Regions from separate parts of the Homo sapiens genome. Here regions 2 and 3 are each linked to region 1. The links are contacts of gene promoters, found by promoter capture Hi-C in human tissues and cell types (Jung and others, 2019). All regions are on one chromosome and are shown on one strand. Each heading gives the region's core, a stretch centred on a gene start or on the middle of the fragment in contact. The rest is flanking DNA. Distances are from core to core; before and after follow the strand shown. Region 1 holds the start of SIRPA (signal regulatory protein alpha). Region 2 holds the start of FKBP1A (FKBP prolyl isomerase 1A). Region 3 overlaps TGM3 (transglutaminase 3).

Region 1 (4,389 bases), core at 719-3,218:
CTTTGCACAGGTCTTTAACCTGGGAATCAGGAATTCAAATCTTGTTTCTACCCCAAGCTTTGCTGTGTGGCCTTAAGCAAACCTATTCCCTCTCCGGGCCTCAACTTTCTGTCCATTTACAGGGTTGGGCCTTCTCTCACCTTGTGTCATTCCTGTCCTCTTAACCGCCACTGTGTGAACCAAAATTCTCTCCCATTAGCAGCGGGGTCTTGAACTTGTGTTCCTCCCACAGTGCGGAGCCTTCTGCCAGGTGACCACGACACTGGCACTCCCCATCACTGACCTGGCTACTACAGGAACGGCGTTCCCTCCGGGAAAACCGGGGTTCTGTCCTCTCCAACTCCAGGCCTCTGGCCCCGGCTCCCCTTCCCCTCATCTTCCTCAGGGCTTGTCCTTCTCCCGGAACCCAGGCCTTCAGGGCCCCGCTCTCCCACACACGCCCCGGCCTGGGCCTCCCACCCGCCCAGTCCGCCCTCCACCACCGAGACACCTGGCCAGGGGGCCTCCACCTCCCTGGGAAGGCCCCGACCCTTCCCCTCTGGTTGCGCGCCACAGCCCCCTTCTCGCTCCCTCTCCTCCCCGCGCCTCTTTTCCAGGCGGCACCGAAGTCCTTCCTACACACACGCTATTTTTGTACCATCATCTCTTCTTCCTCTCCCCTTCCCCCTGCGTTCACTTACTTCCTTCTTTTCCTTCACCTCGGCCCGGCTCTGAAAGGATCGGGCCCCTCCGGCCCGCACCCACCCCCAAGAGGGGCCTTCAGCTTTGGGGCTCAGAGGCACGACCTCCTGGGGAGGGTTAAAAGGCAGACGCCCCCCCGCCCCCCGCGCCCCCGCGCCCCGACTCCTTCGCCGCCTCCAGCCTCTCGCCAGTGGGAAGCGGGGAGCAGCCGCGCGGCCGGAGTCCGGAGGCGAGGGGAGGTCGGCCGCAACTTCCCCGGTCCACCTTAAGAGGACGATGTAGCCAGCTCGCAGCGCTGACCTTAGAAAAACAAGTTTGCGCAAAGTGGAGCGGGGACCCGGCCTCTGGGCAGCCCCGGCGGCGCTTCCAGTGCCTTCCAGCCCTCGCGGGCGGCGCAGGTCCGGGCCCGGCAGGGACGGGGAGGGGCAGAGCGGGACCGGTCGGGGCTGGGGACCAGCCGCGCGGGCTTCTGAACGGGCACGCTGTCGGAGCCGGAGGCTCGTCTAGTCCCGAGCCCCAGCGGGCCGCGGCGGCTCGCGGGGCCGCCTTCCCGGGACAGCAGCCGGGGCCCGGGCGCCGGCGCGGGGGAGGACGCTGCCCTCCCCGGCCGGGCGCGCAGCTCGCAGCCCTCGCTCCCTCCCCCGGGGCGCGCAGGCGGGCGCTCGCTCGCAGAGAAGGTGCCGGCGGGGCCGGAGCCCCGAAGCCTCCCCGGGCGGCGGGAAGACGGGAGGAGGGGAAAGGGAAGGAGGGAGGGGGTCGGGCTGCCGGGAGGGCGGGGGCAGCGGCCGGGACTGCGGGCCGGGAGCGAGCCCAGCCGCCCGCGCCGTGTGGAGCCCGGGCGGGGCAGGTGGGCAGCGGCGGGGGCGGCTCCGCGCGGCCGGGCTCGGCCGTGCTGCCCCTCGCCCCTGCTCGCGCGGTCCTCTCTCCCGCGCGGTCTGTCGGTCTGCGCGCCGCCTCGCTCCTCGCTCCTCGCTCTCCCCCTCTTTCTCCCCCTCTCGCCTCTCCGTGTCTCTGGCTCTCTGCCTGGCTCCCTTGGGTCTGTTTCTCTCTCCTGCCGCCTCTCTCTGGCCGCCCCTGGCTTTATTTCTCGCGCGCTTGGGGTCTCTCCCAGTCTCCGTCTCTCCATTTCTCCTGGGGGGCGGGGAGGGGGGGTCTCCAAAAACCGCGGCGGCGGCGGCGGCCGCTCCAGGCGCCCGTTCCGGAGTCGGGGGGAGGCCCAGCCGGGAGGGGGGAAGGGGGGGAGCCTTAGTCATTTCCCCGCTCCAGCCTGCTCCCGCCCGAGCGCGCACTCACGGCCGCTCTCCCTCCTCGCTCCGCAGCCGCGGCCCATGGAGCCCGCCGGCCCGGCCCCCGGCCGCCTCGGGCCGCTGCTCTGCCTGCTGCTCGCCGCGTCCTGCGCCTGGTCAGGTAAGCACCCCCCCGCTCCCCACCGCTGCACTCCCCAAACTGCGGGCTCAGGCCTCTCAGACTGGCACTGGGACCCCTTCGGCTAATGCCGAGCAGTAATAGGGGGAGAGACGCCTGTAACCAGGGTTATAGATGCAGAAACTGAGGCCCAGAGAGGGCCAGCGACATGCCCAAGGTCACACAGCCAAGGGTAGAACCCAAGTCTCTTCTATGAGAGTTTGTCTCTGTGGACTCTGACTCTGTGCACTGTGCTGGGCACTGAGACAAAAGAGCCGAGTTGCTTCACTCAGCCCCTGCCCGGTCCAATGGGGAAGGCTGACTGACAGTGGCTTTCAGAGCAGGGCCGTCCGGCTTCCCCAGAATCTGTCCCCATGGACATACGACTTTCCACATGTTTGACTTCAGGGTGTGAGGGGAGGAGGTGAGGGCAGAGGTCCTCCCGATGCTGCCTGGAATGGAACAGAGACAAGCTGTTGCAATTAGGGAAGAGTGAGCCCTCCCTCTGGTGCGCAGAGTAAACCGGTGTTAGTGTGTGCCTGGGAGAGAGGGAGCCGGGAGGCCGCGGTAACCCCAGAGCGAGCTGCTGCGAGCAACAGATCCTTATGTAAAAACACGGTGGATTGTCCCTGTGGTTGCCAAAGCCTCTCCCTGGTGGTCTTGCTCCTTGAGGCGCTCCCAGCTCCCCCTTCCTCCTGCCTTCCCCGAGCTTCCAGGCAGCTCCCTGCAGTTCAGGTGCTCCGCGGGGATGTTACCTGTGGCTCTGACCATGTCTTTCTGTTGGCCTACATCAAACACCTGGCTGTCGCCGGCAGGCGGGCTCTGAAGGCTACTGTGCATGTTCACCAAAGGGTGAGGTCACCATTCAGGAGTCTTGCTTCTTAAATGGGTTTTGCAAAACCATGGGTCTCCTGGGAGGGCACCGGGTGGGGGGCGGGGGGAGCAGAGAAATGGCATTAAGGGAGTTGGGAGGGAGAGAAAAATGGGGATCTTGTTTTTTGTCGTCTTGAAACTGTGTTGTAGGCAGTGGGGTCTCTCTGTACCTCCCACCCTTGAGGAGGGAGGTAAAGATGAGCTCAGTGTCCAACACCCCCTTTTGCGTTTGACTAGAGATGGTAACCATCTGATAGCAGGGAGAAAGGGAGAACTAGCAAAGAGTGGGTGGAAGGAGAAGTATGGGGGGTAGACAGCTGCTTCTCTCTGCCCTGCAGTTTCCCCTGAAACCCAGGAATTCACATAGGCATCCCCCCACCCCACCCCACCCTCCACCCCCAGTTCTTTTCAGTTATAGTTGCGTCCTTGCTGGGCTGAAGGGAGCACTGATACAGTTCACGTCTCTCCAGTGAGTGGCATCTCCTATCTGCTCCTTCCTGCCTGAGCTGGCCATTTGTACCCTGCAAAAGTCCGAGTTCCTGCCCTGCCATCCTTCCTGGCCTGGAAATGCACAAGTGTCACTCACAAGTGCTTAATTTTCCTGAAGCAGGGAATTGGGCCCGAGTTAATTTCTAAATGTCTATTCCAGACCCTTCTCCGACCAGGAGGCTGTGGTTCAGTCCCTGGCAAACGAGCAGTGACGCTGATTAGCAAGTGCTCCGATGGGCAGCCTGCCTTTCCTGGGGCACCGGCTGGGAACACCAACACCTTTCTTGTGAGCACATCTCCCCCTTTTGCCTATAAAAACAGTCTATAAGATGGTAAAGATTGGGCCATAAAACTTCCGTTCCAATCCATTCAGCATCAATAGCCTGAAAAAGTGGGAGCAGCAGAGGGGCCAAGATTAGCTTTGAAATAAATAAATCTTAGGAGGTAAGAATGAATTTCTTGGTCGAGGGTGGTGGGGAAGGGATGAGGTGCGACCATCATAGCTCAAGTCTCCCATTATCCTTCAGTATCTGTTCTTCGGGGTCCTGGTCACACCATGGGCCTGGGCAGGGAAGTCACCTGGTTTGGCTGAAGGATGGGGCCTCAGGCCCCTCCCCCTATTGCTCCAGACATGGAATTTACAACAAAGAAGTAGAGAGACAGGATATGAGGGTAGGAAGGTACAAGGAGGCAGTTGTCCAATTTTCTAAGAAAATGGATTTGTTCGAGTGAGAAACTAAAATGTCAGGTTTAGGAAGGCGGCTTTGGATTGAATGACTACTAGTGTCTCAGGCAGAACTGTCAGCCTGGGAGGTGTCACATGATTCCTGTGTCTTCACATGATCACTGTTTTGGGGGGGTGGGGCCAATCATGTGAATTATCCTGGGTGGGGGAGGCAAGAGAAGAAGTTTCTAAAGATTGCTTTTAGCACAAATGCTGCC
Region 2 (4,389 bases), core at 795-3,294, 500 kb before region 1:
GAAAAGGCTCCAGACATGCTGTGTGGGGATATTTCACAAAGAGACATGGTGAAGTGCGGCACTGCCTACATGCTGGGGTCCAGTCCTGTTGGCAGCACCAGAACATGGGCGAGCATGAGGGGCAGACGTGGGAGTGGGACACATGCTGCCAAGCACCCTAGTGTGGCTATGTACAAGCTAGGGTGGGGAGGGGGTGCGGCAGAAGGCAGCTCCTCACGGCTTGAGTCCCAATCTTTGCCCCAGTTGGCTGCGGAACTGAATGAACTGCCCACTCACCCCAGCACTGTAAATGGTTACTCTCCTCATCCTTCCGATGACAAATCACCAAAAGGATGCGCTTTCATCTACCAGACCTCCCAGGCTCAGGTGCTGACTGTGGCCTACAAGGACAGCTATCTAAAACATCAAAAGCACTTTCCAGCTTCCTTCACGGACATGAGACTGCCTGCTCCCCAGAAAGATGGGTTTCAGTAACTCCTCCTTTGGCAGAATTTTTAAAGTTCTAGTCCTTAACTTCTACCTCCTGCCCCCATTTCTACCCACGGGGAAGGGCCACAGAAATAAAAGGGCATGGGAGGGGGGATGTTAGTTGCCTTTTCCTCTTTCCAGTGAAAGTCATTTCCCTCAATAGAGGGATCCCTCCATGTTTCCATGATTTGGAAGAGAAAGGTGGAGCTTATTCGTGAGCAACTTGGCCAGAACTGCCCACAGCCTACTACCCAGGAGGAGGAAGAGGAGGAGAGGGAGTGGGAAAAAAAGAGGGAGGAGGAGGGGGAACAGAGGAAAGGGTGGGAAGGTTGAGAAAGGGGAAGGAGGAGGGGGAGGGAAGGTTATTCGTATCAACAACTGTGGCTACACCAATCACTGCCACCCTTGTGGGACCCACAGCCACTGAGTCTCCGCCAACTCAGCTCTCCCCCTCCCCCGCCCCCATACAAACCAGGACAAGCTTGTAAGGAGAAGGAGTAAGACAGCCCCAAGGCACACGACTCTGATGTCTGAATTCTGGCTGGGGAGGGGGAGGTGTCTAAAATTTCCTTTGGCTTGTATTATCACTATGTATTAGCCTCCAGATGCTTATCTTTAAAATGAGGACGAGAAAAGTCTCTACTTCTAGAAGAGCTGGGGGACTAAATTACACGTGCAGCTTTCGGTCAGCCTGAGCCAGCGCTGTCACTGAGCCTTGGATTTGTAAGTGGCTCAAAAGTAAAAAGACGGAAGAAGGCCGTGCAGCTCTACTTCCCCCAAGGCCAGGAAGGGCCAAAGCAATGACTTAGGAAGTGGGATGTTTCCCCACCCTAGGCAAAGGGGCGAATTCCGAGTTCCCCGGAGGAAGCAGCAGCTCTGCAGACTCGGAATTACCTCGTCCTCATCTCCAGTGAAGGGAGGGATGGAAGTGGGGGCAGGGGCACAGAAATGGTACAAATCCTTCCTAATGGTCCCTGGCCAGAGCTCTGCCCATTCCTGAAAGTGTGACCTTGGGAAAGTGAGACCTTGGGAAAGTGACTTCGCCTCGCCAAGCCTCAGTTTCCTCATCTGTGCAGCGGGCATAAGGGCAGCATCTAAGGTGCAGAAATGCTTCTGACGGGTCAGATAACACCTAGCCCGCAGCCGACGCTCACAGCCGCCGATTCAGACCCGCCCGGGTTCCGCAAGCCCCAGGCTGCCCCTGAGCCACCGCCCAGGCCTCAGCCTCGGGCCATGCGGACCTCGCCGCCGCCACGCCCCGGACCCCAGGCCCCGGGCCCCCAGGCCTCGACGGCCAGCCGCACCCGGGCTGCGGACTGCGGCCCGGGCCCCCTCCCCGCTGGGCCCCCGACTCACCGGTGTAGTGCACCACGCAGGTCTGGCCGCGCTTGGGGAAGGTGCGCCCTGAGGAGACAGAGACGGGCATGCTGAGCCGATGCGCGCGGCGGCAGAGGTACTCCGAGCCGCCGCGCGCCACTACTCACCGTCTCCTGGGGAGATGGTTTCCACCTGCACTCCCATGGCGGCGGCGGACGCTGAGCGGGCGGGCGGCGCGACGGGCGGCGTGGACCAACAGCGACCTGGCGGCGGTTCCACGGCTCTGCCTAGTACCTCGGCGCGTCGCCTGCGCACGCGCACGCCCCCTCACGCCCAGCCCTGCGTGCGCGCCCCACACGGCGCGCGACGTCCCGGAAACCCAGGCCTCCGGAAGAGGGACCGGAAGCCCAGAAGCCCCGAGACCTCCGGAAGCCCGGAGGCCTCCGGATACAGCTGTGTTTGCCGGGTGACTTGCTTCGTTCTCCTGCCCTTCCTCTGTGCTTCCAGCCGGTTAAGCATCTCCCTGCCCAAAGAATGGGAGTAATAATAGGGGGTCCGCCAGTCACTGACTGGGTGACTGTCATCAGGTTTCCACTTAGAAGCACACAGTTACTCATCCTGGGAAGAGCATGGTTCTGAGAAGACAGCGCACAGGTGGTGGTAGTATGTTAGTATTTTATAAGTGGCTCAAGGTTGTAAGTTCTGCTTTTCTTCACTGGAGGAGGAGTTGTCCAAATTCATTCACTCACCCATAGCTTACATGCATACATTCTTATTGAGCATGTGAAAGTTGATAATACGAATTGGGTCACTCTTCTTATGCCCAACGGAATCAGAATCCAGGGGCCAGGGGAAAAGCACTGGAGGCACGCAGCGCCTGCTCCAAGAACCAATATTTCCACTAACTGCTGCGGAAATGGCCTGCTGTCCCCCTGAGACCAGATTCAGCTAGTAACTGCTGAAACAACCCGCCATAACCTAATACTAGTTTTACTTACCACTGTCAGTCACCAATCAGAGCTTGCCAGCTCCCTGAAACTTTACTAGTGCCAATGCATTTCCCTTTCTAATAAAACGCCCAGCCTTCTCTTTGTTTTTCGGACATACCAAAGACCACCAGATCTGTGTGTATGCTCCGAGTTGCGATTCTCGCTTCCCCAAATAAAACATTACATTTAGAGATTCATCTCCATATTTTATTTTGACTTTGACAAGCACCTTCTGTATGTCATGTACTGTGCTAGGTGCTGAGGATACAGCGGTGAAGGAGTCAGACTTAGTCCCTGACCTCACAGAATCTACGTATGATGTGGGAGAGATAATCAAATAACCTGTTTAAGTAAAAAAAGATACGGAATAAATGTAAAGTTTCAAATCTGTAATATTATGAGACAGTAATACATGCTGTGAGGGGCGTGTTAATATAACAGAGATGCCTCACTTAGTCTGGAATGTGGTCAGATATTTCCCTGAGTTAGCCAGGTTTAGCCAGGTTTAGCCAAGGTTAGAAGGCCAATTGTGTGTATGTGTTGGGGTAAGGGGAGGCAGAAGGAGCAGTACCTGCAGAGGCACTGTAACGCAAGAGAACACTGTGACATGGTCTAGGACATAAGGAGGCACATGTGACTAATCTTTCTCTGATCTGTGTGTGTGTGTGCTTCTGCATTAGTCGATTCTCACACTGCTATAAAGAATACCTGAGGCTGGGCACGGTGGCTCATGCCTGTAATCCCAGCACTTTGGGAAGCTGAGGCGGGCAGATCACTTGAGGCCAGGCGTTCAAGACCAGCCTGGCCAACATGGTGAAACCCAGTTTCTACTAAAAATACAAAAAAATTAGCCAGGCATGGTGGCACAGGCTTGTAATCCCAGCCACTTGAGAGGCTGAGGCATAAGAATTGCTTAAACCAGGAGGCGGAGGTTGTAGTGAGCCAAGATTGCACCTCTGCATTCCAGCCTGGGTGACAGAGTGAGAACCAGTCTCAAAAAAAAAAAAAAAAAAAAAAAATTCCTGAGACTGGGTAATTTATGGAGGAAAGAGGTTTAATTGACTCACAGTTCTGCATGGCTGGGAATCCTCAGGAAACTTACAATCATGGCAGAAGGGGAAGCAGGCATATCTTACACAGCAGCAGGCATGAGAGAGAGTATGTGAAGAGGAACTGTCAAACACCTATAAAACCATCATTTCTCATGAGAATGCACTCACTACCATGAGAACAGCATGGGGGAAACCACCCCCACCATCCAATCACCTCCCACCGGGTCCCTCCCTTGACCTCAGGATTATAGGGATTACAATTCAAGATAAGATTTGGGTGGGGACACAGAACTAAACCATACCAGCTCCTGTAGTGTTTTAAACATGACCTCACAGTTTTTTGACACCCCAACCCTCATCTATGTCCCCTTTCCTAAAATCTCAGTGAGCTCGTGACTGCTTTGGAAATTTTAATGTAGTAAGAATACAGGCTGTAACAGAACCAAATTAACTGTGGCTGAAAAGAGGCTGAAGTTGCTGTCTCTCTCATGTAACAGTTCAGAGGCAGGTGGTTCAGTGCAGGTAGGACTTCACAGGCTGCCCAGGGACTCATCCTTCTTCTA
Region 3 (4,389 bases), core at 1,024-3,523, 420 kb after region 1:
TCCCCACCTTGTCCTCTGAATTCTGCATGTCAGTCTCCCTAGGAAAGGCATTAGTGCTGACTCATTTTGGGGGGGTGGTTTCTGCCCAGATCAATAGCAATGATGACAATGGTGTGCTTGCTGGGAATTGGAGCGGCACTTACACCGGTGGCCGGGACCCAAGGAGCTGGAACGGCAGCGTGGAGATCCTCAAAAATTGGAAAAAATCTGGCTTCAGCCCAGTCCGATATGGCCAGTGCTGGGTCTTTGCTGGGACCCTCAACACAGGTACCTTGGGTGTGGTGTGCCTTGGCTGGGTCAGTGGGTGGCAGTGGGCTATGCCAAGGTACCATCTCCACCACCTGAGTCCTCACGCCCACCCTGACTTGCAGCGCTGCGGTCTTTGGGGATTCCTTCCCGGGTGATCACCAACTTCAACTCAGCTCATGACACAGACCGAAATCTCAGTGTGGATGTGTACTACGACCCCATGGGAAACCCCCTGGACAAGGGTAGTGATAGCGTATGGTAAGTATCTCACCTTTTCCCTGAACTTCGAGCACCACATTTGAGTGGCTTCTCGCTCTCACCATCCTTCTGGGACCCAGGTCCAAACAGGTGTTGCAAGGCAAGTAACATGTCATCACAGGGTGTAGAATGGAACTGCTGGCAATGCTGATTACACACTTAGCAGCACCCAAGACACCTCTTCTCGGTGCTCTGCGGTCTGCTAGTCTGGTCTATCTTGCTGCCGTCAGACAAAGGATCTGATCCCAGTGAAAGACAGGGCTCCTAAATTCACTCTGAATTTATGGGATCCATTGGACCTTATACTACTATAGAATATACAAGTTGAAACTATTGCTTTTCCAGCAAGAAATATACATTTGTTTCATTTCAAGTAATCCATATGACTTACAAACTTTCTTAAAGAGAATAAGAAAAGCAACACATCTTCTCTTAGCATATATATATATATATATATCATATATATATATATATACACCTATTGTATACCTTGGTTGACATCAAAAGTTCAGAGTTTATTCTGGATTCCGGATGAAAACAATTATTTTTTTGAGATGGAGTTTCATTCTTGTTGCCCAGGCTGGAGTGCAATGGTACAATCTTGGCTCACTGCAACCTCAGGCTCCCAGGTTCAAGTGATTCTCCTGCCTCAGCCTCCCAAGTAGCTGAGATTACAGGCATGCACCACCATGCCCGGCTAATTTTTGTATTTTAGTAGAGACAGGCTTTCACCATGTTGGTCAGGCTGGTCTTGAACTCCTGACCTCAGGCCATCCACCTGCCTCAGCTTCCCAAAGTGCTGGGATTACAGGCGTAAGCCACTGCACCCGGCCAAAATGTTTTATATATATTTGGGCATTTATATTCCTAACCATAAGTATGCCATGTGCACACTATCAATACACACACACACGTAATTTAATGATAGATGCCACTGGAAGTAGGAAATGTGTAGACATATATCTGTAACTGCATAGAGCACTAGATAGATAGATATTATATAGATAAAAATAGACATTGTTACAACTGTTTAAGGTTATATCATATACCAAGTTATTACCGGATGGCAATTGGCAATGATGTCTATATCTGTAGATACACAGAGATATCTATGTATCTATATAAAGTACCCATCTATCTATTGTTTTAATCCATTTCAAAGGCTACACACACACATAATTGCTCACATGCATGTATGTGGCTAGATAATCGTATGACAGATGTAATCTTATTTTCAGATGTTCAATTTTGAGATAGTCTACATAAAATGTTTGTATTACTTATCATTCCCAGAATAAGTATATCTAACTTATCTGAAATGTGCTTAATGTAACTAAGGGTATAAAATGAAACGAAAATAGATAATAATGGAAAACACTGTTAAAACAAATAAATAACAACTCCATGCCAGCAACCGAGTTGAGTAATAAAAGCATCCCTTCCCTTCTGAAGGAGAGTGAGGTTTATGTAACTCACCCCAGAGTCAATGGATTCTGGGGTTTTACTAGGGGAGAGAAAGCTTATTTAAGGAGTTTCTTTCTTGATCTGCACATACACAACTTTCTCTCTAATGATATTGCTTACTTGTGGCCAGACTTTGTTTTCCAACTTCTCATGAATGAGTGTCTTCTTTTCCCTGGGCTTTTCTTTGTTCTTGTGTCCAAAATCCCATCGCAACCAGCTCTGATCACTGGGGCTATGCCATTCCTAACTTTAGTTTCTTCTACAAAAGGAGATGGTTGGTGAGACAAGTTGGGGGTCCCCTCGGCATACCCTTTCTGTGATTATCCTGTACATTAGGAACTGCAGGGACGTGGAAAGCTTAAGTCTCAGTTCCTCCACTGAAAGCATTTTTATGGTGCTGTTAGGAGGCACGGGGTGGGGAGGCCACTAGTAGAGGCTAATTAGCAACACAGCATGGTGTGTGATGCCCAGGCAAGTGACTGAGACAGGGATACCAGGAACTCGGAGGAAATCCTCAAGGAAGGCGTCCTGGAAACAGGAAAGTGAGGCTTTTAAGCTAAATTTAGAATTAGAACCCAGGTCTCCTGGTTAGTGATTCACACTGCCCCCCACATCAGCTTAACATCACCTTTGGGACAAGTAGGAGCTGATGGAGACATTCCAGGGTGGCTCTGTGGTCATTTCTGTGGCCTCATGGGAGGGGGCCAGGCGCAGAAGCTCTGACTGTTCCTGAGGATCTTGTCACCCCTCCCTTCCTCTCCCCTTTTCTGAACCTTCTCAGAAAGCCAAGGGAGCTGATAGTTACTCCCTACACCATTCCCTACAGCTGATGGTTGGGGGAGCCAGCCCTGGAGGGCATGAGGACAGGGAGTCCCAAGCACTAGCTCCAGCCCTACCACCCAATTGCTGTGAGGCTTGCGCAAGGCAATTTATCCTCCTGGTCCCAAGTTTCTTCATATGTGAAATATAAGGGTTGGCCTAGGACTAGATGATTTCTTAAGTCCTTTGCCAGCTTAAATGTTTAAATTCTCGGGAGCTTCAGCCCACTCCACTTTCTATAAGGGAGCTAGCCCTCCCAAGGGAGCCCTGCTGTTCCTTCCTCCTTGAATCCCATGCAGGGGAGAGCTAAACCAAGAGCCAGTTTCTGCCTGGCGTGAAATTACTAAGCTATTCTTATAAGGGCAACCGGAGTTTGGACAGAAAACCTCTGACATGAATCTTTGTATGTTACCAAAAAGTGTTGAAAGCTTTAGAACCGTGCCCAGATTTGCCTAAAGTAATAGAATGTGAGAATCAAGGGAGATTAAGCATTAGAAGTGCTTAGTAATAGTAACAGCAGCAACTAATAATTTGTTGAGCAGTTGTTGTGTGCCAGGTACTGTTATAAGTGCTTAGATTTCATCTTCACAAATGACGTAGGCATTGTTATTTTCATCCCCAATTTATTTTTCATGGATGAGAAAACAAAGGCCCCGAGAGAAGTAACTTGTCTAAGGGTAAACACCGGGAGACATGTAGACATTCTAAGCGCATAACATTATGTAAGTTCCTTGCCTTTGCTACACCTCAATTTCCCACTTGTAAAACAAAGGGCCAGATCAGGGGACCTCAGTGACATTTTCTAGGCCTTTCTTTTAATCAGATTCACAGCAGCCAGTGGGGTAAATTTTTTTCTAAGCCACTCTGCTCGTGCCAATGGTTTGGCTTAAGAGTCACGCAGTTCCGGAGTATTCACTCTCTTCAGAGTGAGGACACTTTTCGGGGGAGCTTAGTTTGGGATGCTTCTTTGAGATGTCCTCCTTCGGGTCCACTGCAAAGGAAGTCTCTGGAGCCTATTCAGCCACCGAGCAGCAGCCGAATGATTTGGAACAGTTTAGCCAAAGTTATCTTGACTTTTCTGGCTTGTTTTCTTCATTCATTTGGCTTGATCCCCCAATTTCTAGAGTCATAGATCTGACTCTACCTGTAGACTTTGCAGAACTCTGAGGTAGAAGGTGCCTAGAGACTGCCCAGCCCTGCCAGGGAGGTGAAGTCAGGCAGTGCCTCCAGCTGTCAGCACCCACACCTCAGCCAAGCCCCTGGCTCCTCATGCAATCTCTCCACGGCCTCTGCCTCTGAATACCTGCTTCCACTAATCCTGAACTGGCTCCTAGGCCCTTAGTGAGGAAGTGACAGAGAGTGGTTTCAGCCCAGAAACAACTCAATTCAGCAAACATGATTCCATGCACATCTGCACTGGACTCCGGGCACCAAGAGGAACAAGATGCAGGAACTGTGCTGGAGGAGGGTTTTTGTTTGTTTGTTTTGTTTTATAACTAGGCCTTAGAGACTGAATAGACGAGTTTACAGCTGCATTAAAAGCTTGGCAATTATGGAGTAGCAATGAAATCAATGAATTATTTGCAAGAGTCAGAGACA

The links. Contacts are between HindIII fragments. The study calls those that stand out against the background at their distance.
Region 2: a contact is called between the fragment with the promoter of FKBP1A here and the fragment with the promoter of SIRPA in region 1, in 1 of the 25 tissues and cell types used here (hippocampus).
Region 3: a contact is called between a fragment that was not itself captured here and the fragment with the promoter of SIRPA in region 1, in 2 of the 25 tissues and cell types used here (mesendoderm cells and spleen).

The regions. Positions count from the first base shown.
Region 1 is chr20:1,893,439-1,897,827 of GRCh38, forward strand. It overlaps SIRPA (signal regulatory protein alpha), which reads left to right and starts at 1,969. Exons shown (of 8, transcript NM_001040023.2): 1 at 1,969-2,088. The coding sequence starts at 2,010. LOC102724545 (a long non-coding RNA gene) reads right to left here and starts at 812. Exons shown (of 4, transcript NR_186374.1): 1 at 681-812. RefSeq lists silencers at 933-1,192, 1,203-1,322 and an enhancer at 2,614-3,129. The HindIII fragment of the contact is 18,060 bases long and covers 1-4,389 here.
Region 2 is chr20:1,391,010-1,395,398 of GRCh38, forward strand. It overlaps FKBP1A (FKBP prolyl isomerase 1A), which reads right to left and starts at 2,045. Exons shown (of 5, transcript NM_000801.5): 1 at 1,953-2,045; 2 at 1,825-1,872. The coding sequence starts at 1,989. It overlaps FKBP1A-SDCBP2 (FKBP1A-SDCBP2 readthrough (NMD candidate)), which reads right to left and starts at 2,163. Exons shown (of 10, transcript NR_037661.1): 1 at 1,953-2,163; 2 at 1,825-1,872. MIR6869 (microRNA 6869) reads right to left here and starts at 1,952; the gene lies at 1,891-1,952. RefSeq lists enhancers at 132-645, 1,437-1,937 and silencers at 1,672-1,741, 1,752-1,851, 2,052-2,101. The HindIII fragment of the contact is 6,579 bases long and covers 405-4,389 here.
Region 3 is chr20:2,316,979-2,321,367 of GRCh38, forward strand. TGM3 (transglutaminase 3) reads left to right here. Exons shown (of 13, transcript NM_003245.4): 6 at 90-267; 7 at 372-507. Among named protein-coding and RNA genes, the nearest start is that of TGM3, 23 kb to the left of the region's middle. The HindIII fragment of the contact is 3,003 bases long and covers 773-3,775 here.